2 separate regions of the Homo sapiens genome follow, and region 1 is linked to region 2. The links are contacts of gene promoters, found by promoter capture Hi-C in human tissues and cell types (Jung and others, 2019). All regions are on one chromosome and are shown on one strand. Each heading gives the region's core, a stretch centred on a gene start or on the middle of the fragment in contact. The rest is flanking DNA. Distances are from core to core; before and after follow the strand shown. Region 1 has its middle 50 kb from the start of NKD1. Region 2 holds the start of CNEP1R1 (CTD nuclear envelope phosphatase 1 regulatory subunit 1).

What was found. The method cuts DNA at HindIII sites, captures the fragments that hold promoters and counts their contacts. A contact is called where the count stands out against the background at its distance.
Region 1: a fragment that was not itself captured here is called in contact with the fragment with the promoter of CNEP1R1 in region 2 in 1 of the 25 tissues and cell types used here (hippocampus).

The regions. Positions count from the first base shown.
Region 1 is chr16:50,497,045-50,499,744 of GRCh38, forward strand. No RefSeq gene overlaps it. Among named protein-coding and RNA genes, the nearest start is that of NKD1, 50 kb to the right of the region's middle. The HindIII fragment of the contact is 5,593 bases long and covers 1-2,700 here.
Region 2 is chr16:50,023,880-50,026,579 of GRCh38, forward strand. CNEP1R1 (CTD nuclear envelope phosphatase 1 regulatory subunit 1) reads left to right here and starts at 1,346. Exons shown (of 6, transcript NM_001281789.2): 1 at 1,346-1,461; 2 at 2,517-2,588. The coding sequence starts at 1,437. RefSeq lists an enhancer at 1,035-1,536 and a silencer at 1,350-1,659. The HindIII fragment of the contact is 15,057 bases long and covers 1-2,700 here.

The DNA.
Region 1 (2,700 bases), core at 166-2,665, 470 kb after region 2:
TTACAGATGTGAGCCACCTCACCCGGCCTATTTTCTTTATACATAACTCAGCCTCAGGTATTCCTTTCTAACAATGCAAAGCTGACTGATATGGAATCTGGGTTAAGACACCCACTAAACCACCCATCCTGGTTGGGAAGGAGATCTTTGTATCAAGATATACCATAGGATCTTGGCTAGCCTGTGACATAACTTCTCTTAGGTCAGGTGACTGACTCTCAACCAATCACCTCTGGACAGATATAAGCCACCTGGGCTCCAGGGACAGATGGTCTCTTCTTTTTTCAGGAGGAGACTGTGAGCATGACAAGCCCCAGGACTGGCCTGTCCAGTAGAATGGATGCCTACTATTTGATGGGCCTTGACTGGGCGTGGGGGACAGGGAGGGCAGGATGACTTAGACATGGTTTCTGTTTAGGGAGCCCCCAGTCCAGCAGAGTCAACCGTCTTTTCTTCTCATAGCCCATGCAGGGGAACCCTAATTAGAGGCAAACACCCCTGACTGTTCCCACTCATCCCTGCAGTCTCAGGGGGGTGAACTGTGAATGCTCAAAGCCCATTATGGTGGTCAATGATTGGTTTGGGTCTGGACATGAGATTCGGCTTGGTCAATGGCTCCAAGGGGAAGTCTCCAAGCTAGGATCTGGGAAAGGAATTCCTCACCAATGAAACAGCACATGAGAGGAAATGCCTCATTTTGCTGAACTGTGTGGGATTGTCTGCAAAGACTGCAAGTGCAGTATGACTAGCGGCGGGGGGACCTGGTGGACATGGTGAGGACAGCATCTTTGATGATGTCACCTGAACCACAGAACAAACCCACCCCACAACAGCTCTGTCTCTGGGCTTGCAGTTATATGATGTGACTAACATTCCTATTTTGCAACAGCTATGAAGGAGGTCTCTGAAGCCTAATTGCCTGCTGTGTGACCTTGGGCAGATGCTTAACCTGTCTTGCCTTGGTTTCTTCATCTGGAAAGTGGACATAAAATAAGACCCAACTCATAAGGCTGCTAGGAGGTGTAAACATGTTTATATATGTGAAGGGCTTATAACAGTGCCTGGCACGCAGGAAATGGTGTACAAGTGTTGGCTGTTATTGAGTTCCCCTTTAAAAATAGATCTTAGGTAGACAGAACTGGATTAATCATGAGCCTTGATTCATGACATGCCACTGGGATATTTATTAAAATAACGAACACCCATGAACCCATCACTCAACTCAAGAACTAGAATATTGCCAATAGTGATTACTCCTCCATATGTGCTCCTCTCGAACTGGCCCCATGACCACCTCCCTGCATTTGCCCCTAAGATAAGCACGGTCCTGAATTCTGTGTTTCTCATTCCCTTGTATGGGTTTGTATAGTTTTATCACATGTAAATGTATATCCAGACAACGTATTGCTTTGTTTTGCCTGCTTTTGAGCCTCACAAAAAGGGTACACTCTACACAGTCTTCCGGGAGCTTTCCTTTCTGCAAAGACGCTTTTACTGGGTTTTCTGCTTCTCGCGGCTAAAGGCACTCCAATCACATAGCATCTTCTAGAAGGGAGGAAGAAAAGCCTACTTTCAACAGACAGAAACGCAAGTTAGATCTTTTCTTCTTTCCTGTTTCTTGCACTTCATTTGGCTATGGATCTGTTCTGGGTCTCCCAAGGGTCACTGCAGAAATGCCTTCCTTCTGAATTAGTGTGTGAGGGGGTTCATGTGCTCCTGGCTTGGCTGCCCTGCTGGCACGGGGTCCAGGTATGAGAGACCCTGCTCAGAGCCCCAAGCCACACGGAGAAGCCTCGGCCCCTGAGGAATTTTTCTGATGCTTTTGAATCTCCCCTGGGAATCATTTTCCCCTTTCCATCCCAAATATGGGCTGAGGCTCTGGAAGGCGTGGGAGAACTAATTTGACGTGAGTGTAAACACTTCCATGCCAGTGGAACCTTGGCCAGCAGGAATTCCAAGCCATCCAAGAATTCTGCCAACCTAGAGTTGGACTTTGGCTGGGACCCTCTGGTGTAGCTACTTTTAGCTGGGAACATTTTTTTCCCAGACTCTGGGAGGCCACACTTGAAGGATTACAATTTCCTCAACAAAGACCCCACGGTGACAAGGGGCATTTCTGCATTGAGTTAACCATTTACATGCCTGCCTCCCAAATTTCCCTGTTTTAGGGGGTGGCATCTACCTAATTGCTAAGACCCAGGGCTCAGGAGGCAAAGAAACCTGGCTCTACTTCTGGGTCTACCTCTTATTGAGAGGATAATAATACCTGCCTCTAGAGATGCGAGGATCAAATGAAATAATAATATATATAAAAATACTTGCATATGGTAGTGCTTGTACCAGTCAGTCCAAGCAAGGCTGTGCTGCAGTAGCAAGCATCCCTGCAAGCTCAGTGGCTAATCACTACAGAAGTTTATTTTTCACTCCCATGAAGCTTGCTGTAGGTCCAAGACCACCCTCCGGGGCAGACTTCTTCTAGATGTGATACATAATCCAGAAGATCAAATTGCAGCTCCATCACTTCAACTCAAAGCCTCCATGTTCACTGTGGCAGAGGAAGAAATTAACTAAATAATTGGCCAGAACATTTCTGCTCTCAGTTAACTAGCCAAGACTAGCCCATGGTTCCACCTCACAGCAAGGGTACTGGGATATATAGTTTTCTGTATGTCCAGGAAGGAAAACTGAGCCTGATGTTGC
Region 2 (2,700 bases), core at 96-2,595:
TGGCTTGTGGAACAAAGGGATCAGTTAGTCAGTGACTGGTACTTGGTAAGCTGCAATTGTTTTAATATTGCTTGTTTAGCTGCTAGAGGAAAAAAACGAACATTGTGGCAGTTAGAACATCGTTTATTCTTTAAGTGTCTGGGTCTTGAGTGATTTAACCCTTGCCTGGCAGGGCCTTAGGTCTTGTTTATAAGTTGGTATGTTACTGCCACAAAAAAATCTAGCCCATCAGTCTTAGATTCTTTTTTTTTTCTTTTTCTTTTTTGACAGTCTCACGCTGTCACCCAGGCTGGAGTGCAGTGGCTCACTGCAACCTCCGTCTCCTGGGTTCAAGTGACTCTCGTGCCTCAGCCTCCCAAAGAGCTGGGATTACAGGCATGCACCACCACGTCTGGATAATTTTTTTGTATTTTCAGTAGAAACAGGGTTTTGTCATGTTGCCCAGGCTGGTCTCAACTCCTGACCTCAAGTGATCCACGCGCCTCAGCCTCCCAGAGTGTTGGGATTAACAGGCGTGAGCCACCGCGCCCGGCCAGGATCTCTATTTTAACACAACTATTCTTATTTGAAATCAATTACTTATTTGCATGTTTGTTGCCTGCTGTAGCCCTTCCTCTTTGCGGGCAGGAATCCTGTCTACCTGGCTCACACGCGTATCAATACAGTGTCTAGCATGTTAGGCAATAAAATGATTTTGAATGAAAGAATGCCACCAATAAATGAACAAGAAGGCCTTGTGATCAAATACAAATGTAGTCAATCCCTTACAGATCTCTTCTTAAGTTATAGGTATTTGGGCTTACACTTTGCCTCATTTAGGAATTATGAAAGCTGGGTGATGTGAGAGGAAAGTAACCAAGAGAGAAGTGTTTACTTAAGGGGTTGGTTATCTAGGATACCATAATTAAGGAAACTGGTTATTTAGGGTTCTAGTTAGTTCTGTACAGATTTCATTACTCCTTGAGATCCTTGAGGACAGAACCAGCTCTTTGATTTCTGTATCCCTCGCTAGCGACCAGAATAATGCCTGGAAGGTAGTGGGCGCTCAATCAACATTTGACGAATGAAAGAACCAAGCGGGGAACGGGGGATAAATGAATGAACGAACTGGCTCCGGAGGGCTGCAGTTCCTCCCCGGGGCAGCAGGCGACGCCAGCGTTACGCCCGCCTGGCCGCCGGCAGTTCTTGGTCCCTCCGGCTGACCGTCCAACGCTAGGCGCCGAGGCCGGTGCAAGAGACAGCCAATAGAAAGCTGTCTTAGTTGGAGGTCTAGTAGAGGAATCCAATGAGCGTAGCGGGTCTAGGCAAGGGGCGGTGCGACGGGGAGGGGCAGCGGGGAGCGGTTAGAGGTGGGAGTTGGCGCTGCGGGCCGGGCGGGGGCCGCGGAAGCTGCGATGCGGACAGGGCAGCGGCGGTGACCCGAGCTGCCGCCCGACATGAACTCGCTGGAGCAGGCGGAAGGTAGGGTGGGCCGCCCGGGCCCGTCCCCCGTCTCCCCTCGGAAGCTGGCGGTGCTCCGGAGGAGCCGGCGTCGTGAAGACCCCCGCCCCGGGAGGAGGCCGCAGAGGATGGAGCTAGGGGCCCGGAGCTTGGGGGCGCGTAGGCGGCCGTACCTGGCCAGACGCGGGGGGCGGTGCCTCAGCTCCCTGAGTCCCCACAAACCTAGAGGGTCGACCTCCTCGCCAGCTTCTATTTTTATTTTCTTTTCACTGGCAGACACTTGCACTTCGTGCATTGCAGCCTGCTAATTCATTTCATTTCATTCTCACAGCCCCGCGAGTTGTATCCCTGATTCCTGCGGTGGTTTCCGGTAACTGCCAAGGTTAGGAAGTGCTGCTCGGTGTTTTAAAGTTTAAAGCACACCACTGCGGAAAGGATACCCCACCACTCACTCGGAGCAGCTTAGACGCCCCTGTCTTCTAGAACTAGGCGCTGCCTGGGTGCCACGAAGATCACCTGTACCCCTTCGGAGGGGGCAAGGGGAATGTCTTTCCACACCCACTCGCTATCAGTGTCAAGAAGTCTAGTAAGGCCAGACGGCGTAGCCATTAATTAAATATAAGAGCTGGAAACCGGAGGCGGGTAATTGCAGTCAGGTAGACCTCGAAGACTTTGATGTTAGGCACTACGTGGTTCTAATAGGAAGTTCTTGGTTCCCAGAGAGCTAAAACTCGACCTGATTTTAATTTTATTTGCAACCCTGAAAATGTTCGCTTTTGGCGCTGGCCGAGGCTGCTGCTTATTTCTCCCAATACCATTTATGAAGCTTCTAAAAGTAAATCAGCAAGTTTTCTTATATGAGAAATTGGAATTAAAGAGCCCTAATTTTTTGTCAAGTGCTTAAAAAGCTGTCATAGTAAATGAAATAAACAGTGCAGTGATACATGGAAGTTAGTGTGTAAGACCTGAAGCAGTTAAGAGTATCTCACATGTCGTCTTAATGTTAGGTAAATACTCTGACATTTCGTCAGACGAGTAAGAGTGGCTAATTAGAAAATTGACATCTTTATACCTAGATCTCAAGGCTTTTGAGAGGAGACTTACTGAATATATTCATTGTTTGCAACCTGCTACTGGACGCTGGAGAAGTAAGTTCCTGAATGTTATTTTAAGGGAAAACTAACAATTGATACTTTTATCCTAATATAGGAATGATTTGCTTTTATGTAAAATGTTTGTTTAAATTTATTTAACATTGTA